Regions from separate parts of the Homo sapiens genome. Here all the other regions are linked to region 4. The links are contacts of gene promoters, found by promoter capture Hi-C in human tissues and cell types (Jung and others, 2019). All regions are on one chromosome and are shown on one strand. Each heading gives the region's core, a stretch centred on a gene start or on the middle of the fragment in contact. The rest is flanking DNA. Distances are from core to core; before and after follow the strand shown.

The links. The method cuts DNA at HindIII sites, captures the fragments that hold promoters and counts their contacts. A contact is called where the count stands out against the background at its distance.
Region 1: a contact is called between a fragment that was not itself captured here and the fragment with the promoter of P2RX4 in region 4, in 2 of the 25 tissues and cell types used here (dorsolateral prefrontal cortex and lymphoblastoid cells).
Region 2: a fragment that was not itself captured here is called in contact with the fragment with the promoter of P2RX4 in region 4 in 1 of the 25 tissues and cell types used here (liver).
Region 3: a fragment that was not itself captured here is called in contact with the fragment with the promoter of P2RX4 in region 4 in 1 of the 25 tissues and cell types used here (mesenchymal stem cells).

The regions. Positions count from the first base shown.
Region 1 is chr12:121,407,809-121,410,803 of GRCh38, forward strand. The region is part of intron 1 of RNF34 (ring finger protein 34); the gene reads left to right. It also overlaps a transcript of KDM2B not described here. Among named protein-coding and RNA genes, the nearest start is that of RNF34, 9.2 kb to the left of the region's middle. The HindIII fragment of the contact is 7,296 bases long and covers 1-2,995 here.
Region 2 is chr12:121,042,220-121,044,983 of GRCh38, forward strand. No RefSeq gene overlaps it. Among named protein-coding and RNA genes, the nearest start is that of OASL, 4.4 kb to the left of the region's middle. The HindIII fragment of the contact is 8,761 bases long and covers 1-2,764 here.
Region 3 is chr12:121,363,816-121,366,644 of GRCh38, forward strand. No RefSeq gene overlaps it. Among named protein-coding and RNA genes, the nearest start is that of ANAPC5, 13 kb to the left of the region's middle. The HindIII fragment of the contact is 3,500 bases long and covers 1-2,829 here.
Region 4 is chr12:121,208,665-121,211,420 of GRCh38, forward strand. P2RX4 (purinergic receptor P2X 4) reads left to right here and starts at 1,465. Exons shown (of 12, transcript NM_002560.3): 1 at 1,465-1,634. The coding sequence starts at 1,501. LOC105370032 (a long non-coding RNA gene) reads right to left here and starts at 1,408. Exons shown (of 4, transcript XR_001749352.3): 1 at 1,185-1,408. RefSeq lists a silencer at 1,171-1,910 and an enhancer at 2,241-2,290. The HindIII fragment of the contact is 10,060 bases long and covers 1-2,756 here.

The DNA.
Region 1 (2,995 bases), core at 307-2,806, 200 kb after region 4:
TTATGACCCTACCGGATATGGTAACTGGGTTCCAAGGAAATATAACAGAGGCAGAGTGTGAAGAGCTCAGAAAATAGATTGGCATATGTTCCCCCCATCCCTTGTCCCCCTCTCCACTGTAAGAGCTCAGATTCAATAAACCCTTGGGGAAATTGTCTTTTAAATAGTTCTCCAATTGCTTTTATAGGTTCTGTCAAGTCATAACAGAAAATGTGGGCCAAGCGTGGTAGCTCATGCCTGTAATCCCAGTGATTTGGGAGGCTGAAGCAGAAGGATCCCTTGAGCCCTGGAGTTTGAGATCAGCCTGGGCAGCATATCAAGACCCCGTCTCTAAAAAAATAAAAATAAATGGCCAGGTGTGGTGGCTCACGCCTGTAATCCCAACACTTTGGGAGGCTGAGGCAGGCAGATCACCTGAGGTCAGGAGTTCGAGACCAGCCTGGCCAACATGGTGAAACCCCGTCTCTACTAAAAATACAAAAAATTACCAGGGTGTGATGGCAGGCACTTGTAATCCCAGCTACTTGGGAGGCTGAGGCACAAGAATCACTTGAACTCAAGAGGCAGAGGTTGCAGTGAGCCAAGATCATACCACCGCACTCCAGCCTGGGTAACAAGAGTGAAACTCTGTCTAAAAAATAAAAATAAAAATAAAAATAAATAAAAACTAGAAAATGTGTACAGATTTAAGAGGGGAAAGATCAGTATAGGACACTTCAAGCACTGTTAGGTGAGTGTCAAGGTGACAGTTGTAGGTAGAGATGCCTTTGCCCTGAGGAGGCATGCAGAATAAATTTCTGAAATTTATGAGAAAGTACAGGAAGATGAAACATACTAAAGGAGAGCCAGGTAGATGGAGTCCAGGCTTGGAAGGATTTATCTTCTGGATGGATTCTTCATCCTGGAGGTGAAGAAGGACAAAAACACTTTGAACAATGGCTGCTTTTGATAGACCCAGAAATCACTGACTTTCTCCTCATATTGGGAGATTTCACACAAGAAAACGTGCAGAGGAGTTAAGGTGGGAAATAAAAGTTGGGGCCCAAAGGCAAAGAGCAAATAAAATCAAGGAGAGCACCAAAGTCCAGCAAAAGTTACAGGCCAATCTGTGGTAAAAAGGAAAGGGATTCATTGAAGAATCAGATTGTTAAAAACTCAGGTGACCCTTTCTTTTTTTTTTTGAGATGGAGTCTTGCTCGGTCACCCAGGCTGGAGTGCAGTGGTACAGTGGCGTGATATCTGCTCACTGCAACCTCCACCTCCCAGGTTCAAACGATTCTCCTGCCTCAGCCTCTCGAGTAGCTTGGACCACAGGCGTGCACCACCATGCCCGGCTAATTTTTGTATTTTTAGTAGAGACGGGGTTTTACCATGTTGGCCAGGCTGGTCTCAAACTCCTGTCCTCAGGTGACCTGCTGGCCTCGGCCTCCCAAACTGCTGGGATTATAGGCATGGACCACAACACTTGGCCAAAACTTAGCTGACCCTTTCTTAAAGGATTGGGTAAAACCAAAGTGGGATGCAAAATACTACATATCCCACAACAGAAAAACATGTAGACAGGTCTTGGGGAGTATGTTGCCGAGGCATTAGTTCCAGAACTCTAGGGCCACAGGCTTCCAAAGTAACCACAGCCCTTTCCACTCAGGAATTTGTGGAGGGTGATGTCCCAGCTGAAACAGTGTAGGCAGGAAGAAGACATCTTCCCTTTGACTGAGCAGGTCTTAAGCTTTTAACCTGGCCTGTATATCAGAATTACCCAGGGAGTTTTCAAAAAAATTCTGGTGCCCAGGCTGCACCACAGACCAGTGAAATCAGAACCTCTGGGCCTGGGACCCCAGGAATCAGTATTTTTAAAGACTTGCCTGGTGAGTCCAACATGCAGCCAAGGCTGAAAACCATTCTCTTAAGGGCAGTTTCACAACCCTAGGCAATTCCTTAGCAAGAAGTACTGACAGCAGCTACGAAGGTACAGGACTAAAACACCTGTTTCACTGAAGGGCAGCGGGGGTGGGTGTTACCTGGCACTTCAGTGCTAAAATGAATGTAAAGAAATTATGTTCATGGCCAGGCGTGGTGGCTCATACCTGTAATCCCAGCACTTTGGGAAGCCGAGGCGGGCGGATCATCTGAGGTCAGGAGTTCGAGACCAGCCTGACCAACATGGAGAAACCCTGCCTCTACTAAAAATACAAAATTAGCCGGGCATGGTGGCAGATGCCTGTAATCCCAGCTACTAGGAGGCTGAGGCAGCAGAATCGGTTGAACCTGGGAGGTAGAGGTTGCGGTGAGCCAAGATCGTGCCATCGCACTCCAACCTGGGCAACAAGAGCGAAACTCCGTCTCAAAAAAAAAGAAAAGGAATTATGTTCATTTCAGCACTGGGATGCCAGGAAATATGGGGCTTAAAGGGGAGATGGAAATTAAAATTTTCAAATATGCTGCATGGGGCTGGCGTGGTGGCTCATGCCTGTAATCCCAGCTCTTTGGGAGGCTGAGGCAGGCGGATTACGAGGTCAGGAGTTCGAGACCAGCCTGGACAACATGGTGAAACCCCGTCTCTACTAAAAATACAAAAATTAGCCGGGTGTGGTGGTGGGTGCCTGTAATCCCGGCTACTTGGGAGGCTGAAGCAGGAGAATTGCTTGAACCCGGGAGGCAGAGGTTGCAGTGAGCCGAGATTGCGCCACTGCATTCCATCCTGGGCAACAGAGCAAGATTCTGTCTCAAAACCACCAAAAAAAAAAAAATGCTGGATGGGAAAAAAAAAAATACTTCAAATATACTAGTGACAGGGGCTTCCCCTGCTTCAAATTTCTGAACTTTCCAGAAGGCTGGAGTGTTGCAAATGCTCCTCTCAGAGATGATAACTATAAGTGGATTTGCCCTTCAATATGATGCTAAGGTTATTCTCTCACTGGGAGATCATGTTCTCATTGGAAGATTTTGCCCAAATTTAAGTTCAGAGATTCTAATGAGGCTGCAACCTAAATTT
Region 2 (2,764 bases), core at 230-2,729, 170 kb before region 4:
CTGCCTCAGCCTCCTGAGCAGCTGGGATTCAAGGTGCCCACCGCCACACCTAGCTGATTTTTGTACTTTTAGTAGAGACGGTGTTTCACCATGTTGGCCAGGCTGGTCTCTAACTCCTGACCTCAGGCGATCCACCCGCCTCGGCCTCCCAAAGTGCTGGGATTACAGGCGTGAGCCACCGCACCCAGCCAGGATATAAGATCTTTTTAAAAAGATTTATTCCATAAACAAGGAGCAGGAGTGGATAGGATCTTGAAGACGACTGTTAGGAGTTGGCTTTACTCTGAATGAAATGGGGAACCACTGGGGAGCATTTTTTGTTGTTCTGTAGGAGTCTGACACCATACATTGGAGAGTTTTGAGTGGAGGAGTGACACGGTCTTTCATTTTAATGGAATTAATCACATTGGCTGCTGGGAGGAAATTAAATTAGAAGCAGAGGGTGGAGTGGAGGTGAAAGTGGAGGCAGAAGTATGGTTAGGAGGCTACTGCAACAGTCCAGGCAAGAGGTCAGTTGACTTGGATCAGAGTGGTAGCAGTGAAATAGTATGTTTTAATTTTTCTGATTTTGGAACATTTCAAACAAAGTGGAATAATACAATGAACCTCCATGTACCATCACCAGTTTCAACAATGATCAACTTATAGACAGTCTGGTTTCAATTCTACCCCCATCCCTAGATTCCCTACTGTGTTATTTGGAAGTGAATCTGGACATCATGTCATTCCGCTGGATATATTTTGACTCCAAGGCTGACAGGTCTTGCTAATGGGTAGAGTATGATGAGAGAGAAAGATCAGAGTCAAGGTCTAAGTCCGGGGCTTTTGGCCTTAGCAACAGAAAGGTTGAACTGCCCTTAACTGAGGTGGGATAGGCTGGGCATGGAGATGAGGAAGGAACTCAGTTTTGGAACTGAAGTTTGGGGTGTCTGTCAGAGACCCAGGTGGAGATATGTGGTGGGGAGTTGGATATGCGAGTCTGTATTACAGGGAGGAGGTCTGGACTTGAGATAAAATGTGGGGGTCACCGGCATAGGGATGTTTAAAGCCATGACACTGAATGAGATCACCAAGGGAGTGATGACACAGCAGGAAGAGAAAAAGACCCAGGACTGAGCCCCAGAGCACTTAATATTATTCGGAGTTTAGGGAGTTGCACGAGTCCAGCAAAGAAGAAGGAAAAGAAGTAGCTAGTGAGGTGGAAGAGAAATCAGGAGTGATGGTTTGAAGGCCAAGTGAAGATATTGTTTTAAGAAAGAGGAAATGGGATGGGCATGGTGGCTCACACCTGAAATCCCAGCACTTTGAAAGTCAAGATGGGAGGATCGCTTGAGCCCAGGAATTCAAGATCAGCCTGGGCAACATGGCAAAACCCCATCTCTACAAAAAAATACAAAAATTAGCCAGGTATGATGGTGAGTGCCCATAGTCCCAGCTACTCAGGAGGCTGAGGTAGGAGGATCACCTCAGTCCAGGGAGGTCGCGGCTGCAGTGAGCCATGATCATGCTACTGCACTCCAGCCTGGGTGACAGAGTGAGACCCTGTCTCAAAAAAAAAAAAAAAAAAAAAAGGAGAAGAAGAAGAAGAAGAAATGGAAATGATCCACTGGGTTAAAAGAGTGCCAGGTGAATCTGCTTTTTGTCCTGAGGGCAGTGGCAAATTTAGGGGAGTGGCATGTAGTGGAGTTAAGATTGGTCTGGCTGCTTCCATGGTGAGGACGAACCGCAGAGGGCAAGGGCAGATGCAGGGAAATGCATTAGGACACTTCGCAGGGGTGCAGGTGATAAGCAGTGAGGCCCAAGACAAGGCTGGAAGCAGTGCAGGTGGAGAAGAGGGGTTGGATTCTAGGTCTATTTTGGAAGAAGGGTGGGCAGGGCTTCTTGTTGACTATAGGTGAGGGGCAAGGAGAAGACAGGGATGACTCCCAGCTCTCTGGCTTGTGTCCTTGAGTAACTGTTGGAGCCACCATTCCCAAGGAGAGAAGGAGGAGTGGGTATGGCTGTGGGGAGTTCGAGGGGTGCATTTTGGATAATGATTTGGTAGTACCCAAGGATGAGAAGCGAGTGACCTGCTCCATGTAAAGACATATTTGATTTCCCTCAGTATACACGTGGTCACTGGTACCTTGGGGAAGAATGAATCACACCAAAATGAACTAATGTAGAGACAGAGTCTCGTTCCATCTCCCAGGCTGGAGAGCAGTGGTGCAATCATAGCTCACTGCAGCCTCGAACCCCGGCTCAAGCAATCCTCCCACCTCAGCATCCCAAAGTGCTGAGATTGCAGGCATGAACTGCTATGCCTGGCCAAGCCCCAAATTTAAGTGATGAGCAGAGGAAGAGAAATTTAGGCGGTACCTGCTGGGGTGGCCAAAGAGGTGGGCATAACCAGAGTTAAAAAAAAGTCACCCACATTGCTGAATGCTTCTGAAAAGTTAAGAAATACAGACCTGAAAAGTACTCAAGAAAACGACTGGTGATCAAGGTGGGCACAGTTTTAGGCGAGAGGAGGGAGCTGAAGCCAGATTAGGCTGGGTGGGGTCGGGGGCATGGAGACCAGAAGTGCAGATGATTCTTTCAAGGAGTTTGTCCATCATGACACATTCCAATTTAACTTTTCAAACTGGCTAACCCCAAGTGGAAAGCATCACATATTTTAATTACATAAATTATAAAAGTTCTTATATTTCCAGTGTTTGGTAGTACCTGATCCTTCAGCAATACCATATTATGAGGATTTAAAGAGCAGTGACAATTTCACAAA
Region 3 (2,829 bases), core at 47-2,546, 150 kb after region 4:
TTCAGGGTTAGGGCTTTAACATATAAATTTGGGCAGGTAGAAGCGGGGGACACAATTTCCCACAATGATAAAATGCAGTAAGGTTTGGAGGAAACTGACAGTTTCACACAGTACTGGAAGGAATATGAATTGATAGAGCCCTTAGAAGGGTTTATCCATCAGAGAGCAGGCAGGAAACAGAAGCTACAAACAAAAAGATGAATACAGAGAATTGGTTCCACAAGTAATGAAAGATCTAAGAACCCAAATGGGACAGAGATTAGCAATAAAGCTGGGTGCAGTGACTCACACCTATAACTCCAGCACTTTGGGAGATCAAGGAGGAAGAATTGCTTGAGCCCAGGAGTTCAAGACCAGCCTGGGCAACATAGCAAGACCTTGTCTCTACAAAAAAAGTTTAAAAATTGCTGGATGTGGGCTGGGCATGGTGGCTCATGCCTGTAATCCCAGCACTCTGGGAGGCCAAGGCGGGCGGATCACATGAGGTCAGGAGTTCGAGACTGGCCTGACCAACATGGCAAAACCCTGTCTACTAAAAATACAAAAATTAGCCAGGCATGCTGCCGTACGCCTGTAATCCCAGCTACTCAGGAGGCTGAGACAGGAGAAGTGCTTGAACCCAGGAGGCAAAGGTTGCAGTAAGCTGGAGATCCCGCCACTGTACTCCAGCCTGGGTGACAGAGCAAGACTCTGTCTCAAAAAAAAAAAAAAAATTGCTGGGTGTGGTGACACACACTTGTATTCCCAAATACTTGGGAGGCTGAGCAGGGAGAATCTCGGGATCCCAGGAGGTCAAGGCTGCAGTGAGCCACAATTTTGCCACTGCACTCCAGCCTGGGCAACAGAGCAAGACCCTGTCTCAGAGAGAGAGAGAGGGAGAGTGAGAGAGACAGAGAGGGAGAGAGAGAGACAGAGAGGAAGAAGAAAAAGAGGAAGAGGAAGACGAAGATGAAGAAAAAGAAGAAGAAGAAGATGAAGACGAAGAAGAAGAAAGAGAGAGAGAGAATGAGTAACAAGATCGTGCCACTCCCAAGTCGAAATGGACAAAGGAAGTGGTGAGCAGCTAGAGCCACTGAGAAGGAGTTGGTGATGCCAAGTAAAATACAGCCACTGTTGGAGGATGTTGCCTGAGGCAGAGAGAAAGGGCAAGAAATTCTGAAGCTTCTCCTTTTCCCTTGTCCTCCAATCTCCCTGTGGGGTATCCTATTAGTTCAACCCATCAGGGTGACTCAGGAGCCAGGAAAAGAAGCCTGTGACCACCACTATCTAATTCCAGAACATTTCCATCTCCCTAAAAAGAAACGCCATACCCAGTAGCAGTCACTCCCTATTCTCCCTCCCCCAACTCCTGGCAAGCACGAACCTACTTTCTGTCTCTGTAGATGGACCTATTCTGGAAATTCCATTCTGATGGATTTATACAGTATGTGGTCTTTTGTGTCTGGCTTCTTTTCATTTAGCTTCATGTTTCTGAGGTTCATCCACACCGTAGCATGGATCAGGACTTTATCCCTTTTTATGCCTAATATTCCATTGTATGGATAGACCACGTTTTGTTTATCCACTCAACAGTTCATGGACACTTGGGCTGTTTCCCACCTTTTGGCTATTGTGAATAGTGATGGTATGAACATTCACATATATGTTTTTGGATGAACATAGGTTTTCAGTTCTTTGGGTTACATACCTAGGAGTGGAATTTCTGGGTTGTATGCTAACTCTACATTTAACTTCTTGAGGAACTGCCAGACTGTTTTCCAAAGTGGCTGCACCATTTTACATCCACCAGCAATGACTCTACATTTCAATGAGCATGAGAAACCCAGCTTGCTATTTAACCATGAATCATGTTCAGCAATGTGATGATTTTGAAAGAACTAAATAATTATCAAAGATTTTAAAGTTATTCTGAGTAATGGATGATTATATTCCTGATTTCATGTATCTCTGAACACTGTACACCCCGAGTAGAATTGTGCCAGCTAGAGCCAATTTTCTCCATTGTTCATTAGACAGAAGTTCACCAGCAGCTAAGTGCTGACACATCATTCCCAGCATCCACCCCGGATGGGAAAGCCAGCAGTGTCACCGCACGCATGCTGGACCTGCTGCTGCTCAGATCTAAAACTTCTGAAAATGACAAACCCTAACCCTACAATTCTGAGACATGATGTTAGAGGGAATGGATAATTGCTCTGATTCCTCTGGGCAAGGAAAATGTAATGTGTGAACCGGTTCTCCTGTGTGCATGCATAAACACTCTCTTTTGATAATCCAAGAAAATCCAGCTGAAAGGGGGAAAAATGTCTCCTATTGAATAAAATGAGGCCTGACTTTGAGAAAGTCACGCAGAGTCTTAGGACTCACTCAATACAGAAAGTTCTGGGTAATTAACTGAGCTGCTGGGGAAACTCGATCGCTAGCCTGATAAGCATCACTAAGTATTTCCAGATCCAAGGTAGCATTTCAGCTTCTCAAGGCTCACGAACTGAATTGACCTCCCTCCCTGGGGAAAGGAATTCTCATTGTTGTCTCTGGACCACTTGTTTCATCCAAAGCCTCCTGAGTAACTAGGACTACAGTTGCACACCACCATGCCCAGCTAATTTTGTTTATTTTTTGTAGAGACAGGTCTCCCTATGTTGTCCAGGCTGGTCTCGAACTCCTGGAATCAAGCGATCCTCCAGCCTCTACCTCCCAAAGTGCTGGGACTATAGGCATGAGCCACTAAGCCGATCCATATTTTCTCAGGTATTATAAAAAGTGATACATACTGTTTGCAGAAAACATCAAAAATATAGAAAAGGAGAACAAGATAAATCAGAAATA
Region 4 (2,756 bases), core at 215-2,714:
CTTATGAATATTTTCTGGGAAACTAAATATAACATTCACCTGTGAAAACACATCTGGGCCAGGCGCAGTGGCTCACGCCTGTAATCCCAACACTTTGGGAGCCCGAGGCGGGTGGATCATGGGAGGTCAGGAGCTGGAGATCAGCCTGGCCAACATGGTGAAAACCTGTCTCTAATAAAAATACAAAAATTAGCTGGGCGTGGTGGCGGGCACTTGTAATCCCAGCTACTCAAGAGGCTGAGGCAGGAGAATTGCTTGAACCTGGGAGGCGGAGGTTACAGTGAGCCGAGATCGCGCCACTGCACTCCAGACTGGACAAGAGTGAAACTCCGTCTCAAAAAAAAAAAGAAAAAGAAAAAGAAAAAACGTATCTGAAGGGAATGAACAAATACACATGCGGAAAATTGTATTCATGGGGTAGAACGGTGGCTGTTTCCCCCCCTTTCACTATTTTCTCTCCTAAAGTTGTGATAGCATTTTCTCAGTGGAAAGGATGACCACAGAATTATCTCCCCTGGGCTGCAACTAAGGAAGTATTTGGAGTGAGAATGCGACCAGGCTTCAAATCCAGGAGGGGTATTTTACAGGGCGTGTGGCTCTCACCCAGGGCTCACAGGACACCTGATATTTAGGCTGTTCCCCAAGAGGCTAAGGACAGCGCGGCCCCAGCTCCCCCAACCACAGCTGCCCAAGTTTAGGAGCCCGCACTCGTGAGCGATGGCTACTCCGCACAGCCCCGGGGTCCTCTACGGAAATCCCTGGCACCTATCAGTACCCCTAAGGGAGGTCGCTCGTTACCCCTCACTTGAACTCTGTCCCAAATGGGAGGTCACTCTCTCTTCGCGGACCCCATCTTCCCCGAAAGGGTCTCTTGTTCTCTCTGGCCCTCCTGAGAAGGTCATTACTCCCCAACTCGCCTTTTTTGTTGTTTTTTGGTTTCTGGTTTATTGAGGCAGGGTCTCGCTTCATCTCCCAGACTGGAGTGCAGTGGCGCGATCACAGCTCACACGGCAGCCTCTACCTCCTGGGCTCAAGCGATCCTCTCACCTCAGCCTCCCTGGGACTACAGGCGAGCGCCACTACGCCCGCTTTTTTTTTTTTTTTTTTTTTTTTTTTGTATTTTTGATAGAGACGAGGTCTCGCTATGTTGTCCAGGCTGGTCTCTAACTCAAGATTCCTCTCACCTCGGCCTCCGCAAGTGCTGGGATGACAGGTGTGAGCCACCGCCCCCGGCCCCTCGCCCGCCTTTTGAAGGAGCCTTTCGTCCTCAAGGGCGAGGCCACTCCCCCCCCGCGAGTTCCATGCCCCCTAGAGGGTCATCGTTCCCGACGGGGAGGTGGCGCCCTCCCCCGGGCCCCGGGCCCCGACCGCCCGTGCTGCCTCCTTCCGGGCCCTCCTCCGCGATGACGGCGCCGCCAGCAGGCCAGGCGGACTGGGCGGGGCTCCGAGCGGGGACTGGGACCCAGACCGACTAGGGGACTGGGAGCGGGCGGCGCGGCCATGGCGGGCTGCTGCGCCGCGCTGGCGGCCTTCCTGTTCGAGTACGACACGCCGCGCATCGTGCTCATCCGCAGCCGCAAAGTGGGGCTCATGAACCGCGCCGTGCAACTGCTCATCCTGGCCTACGTCATCGGGTGAGCGTGGGGCCGCGCGGGGGGCGCGGCGGGTGCTGCCCTCGCGTCCGCGCCGTGCGGCGGCTCATCCTGGCCTCGGTCACCTGGGCGAGTCCGGGAGCGGCGAGCCGAGGCGGTGACACCTTCCCTGGGCCCCAGCCGCCGCGCCGGGGCCCCGGGGGCGGGAGGCTGCTTGCTGCTGTTTTAAAACCACAGCCTGGGCCAGGCGCGGTGGCGCAAGCCTGTAATCCGAGCACTTTGGGAGCCCGAGGCGGGACCATCGCCTGAGCCCAGGAGTTCGAAACCAATTTGGGCAACATCGTGGGACCCCGTCTCTGCAAAAAATTAAAAATCATCCGGGCCTGGTGGCGCGCGCCTGGGGTCCCAGCTACTCAGGAGGCTGAGGTGGGAGGATCGCTTGAGCCCAAGAGGCTGAGGCTGCAGTGAGCTATGATCACACCACTTAACTCGAGCCTGGGAGACAGTCCGAGACCCGTCTGTTTACAAAATAAATAAAGGCAAAGCCTGGCTAGGCTGTTACCCTCTCCTGCCTGACCCCCCATAGTGCCCCTTGGCTGTAGGGGCTTCGCCCTGAACGTCTCAATCTTCGCTCTCCACTTCCCATCCTGCTGATTTGCTGACAAAACCAAAGCTTGGAATTTCCGCTTGGTTCCTTCTGGGTGGGTGGCTTTTGGTCATTTCTTTTGATCACTATGCGGTGTCACTATGTGGTAGTAGCGAGGTCAGACTGTAGCGAGTGTTTAAAGTTTGCTTCCTTTGTTTTCTGGGCTTGTGGGGCTTTTTGTGGTACCTGCCCTAGCCTAGTCAGTCATTCCCCATGCTGCCCCCTTAGGCTAGAGATGCCCTACCGCCCTCAGGCCTCGCTGAATGTGCCATTGTACTTGAAGGCACCTGTTACTTTTTTAATTTTTTTATTTTTTTGAGACGGAATTTCTCTCTTGTCGCCCGGGCTGGAGTGCAATGGCACGATCTCGGCTCACTGCAACCTCTGCCTCCCGGGTTCAAGCAATTCTCCTGTCTCAGTCTCCTGAGTGGCTGGGATTACAAGTGCCCGCCACCACGCCCGGCCAATTTTTGTATTTTTTAGTAGAGACGGGGTTTCAGGCTGGTCCTGAACTGACC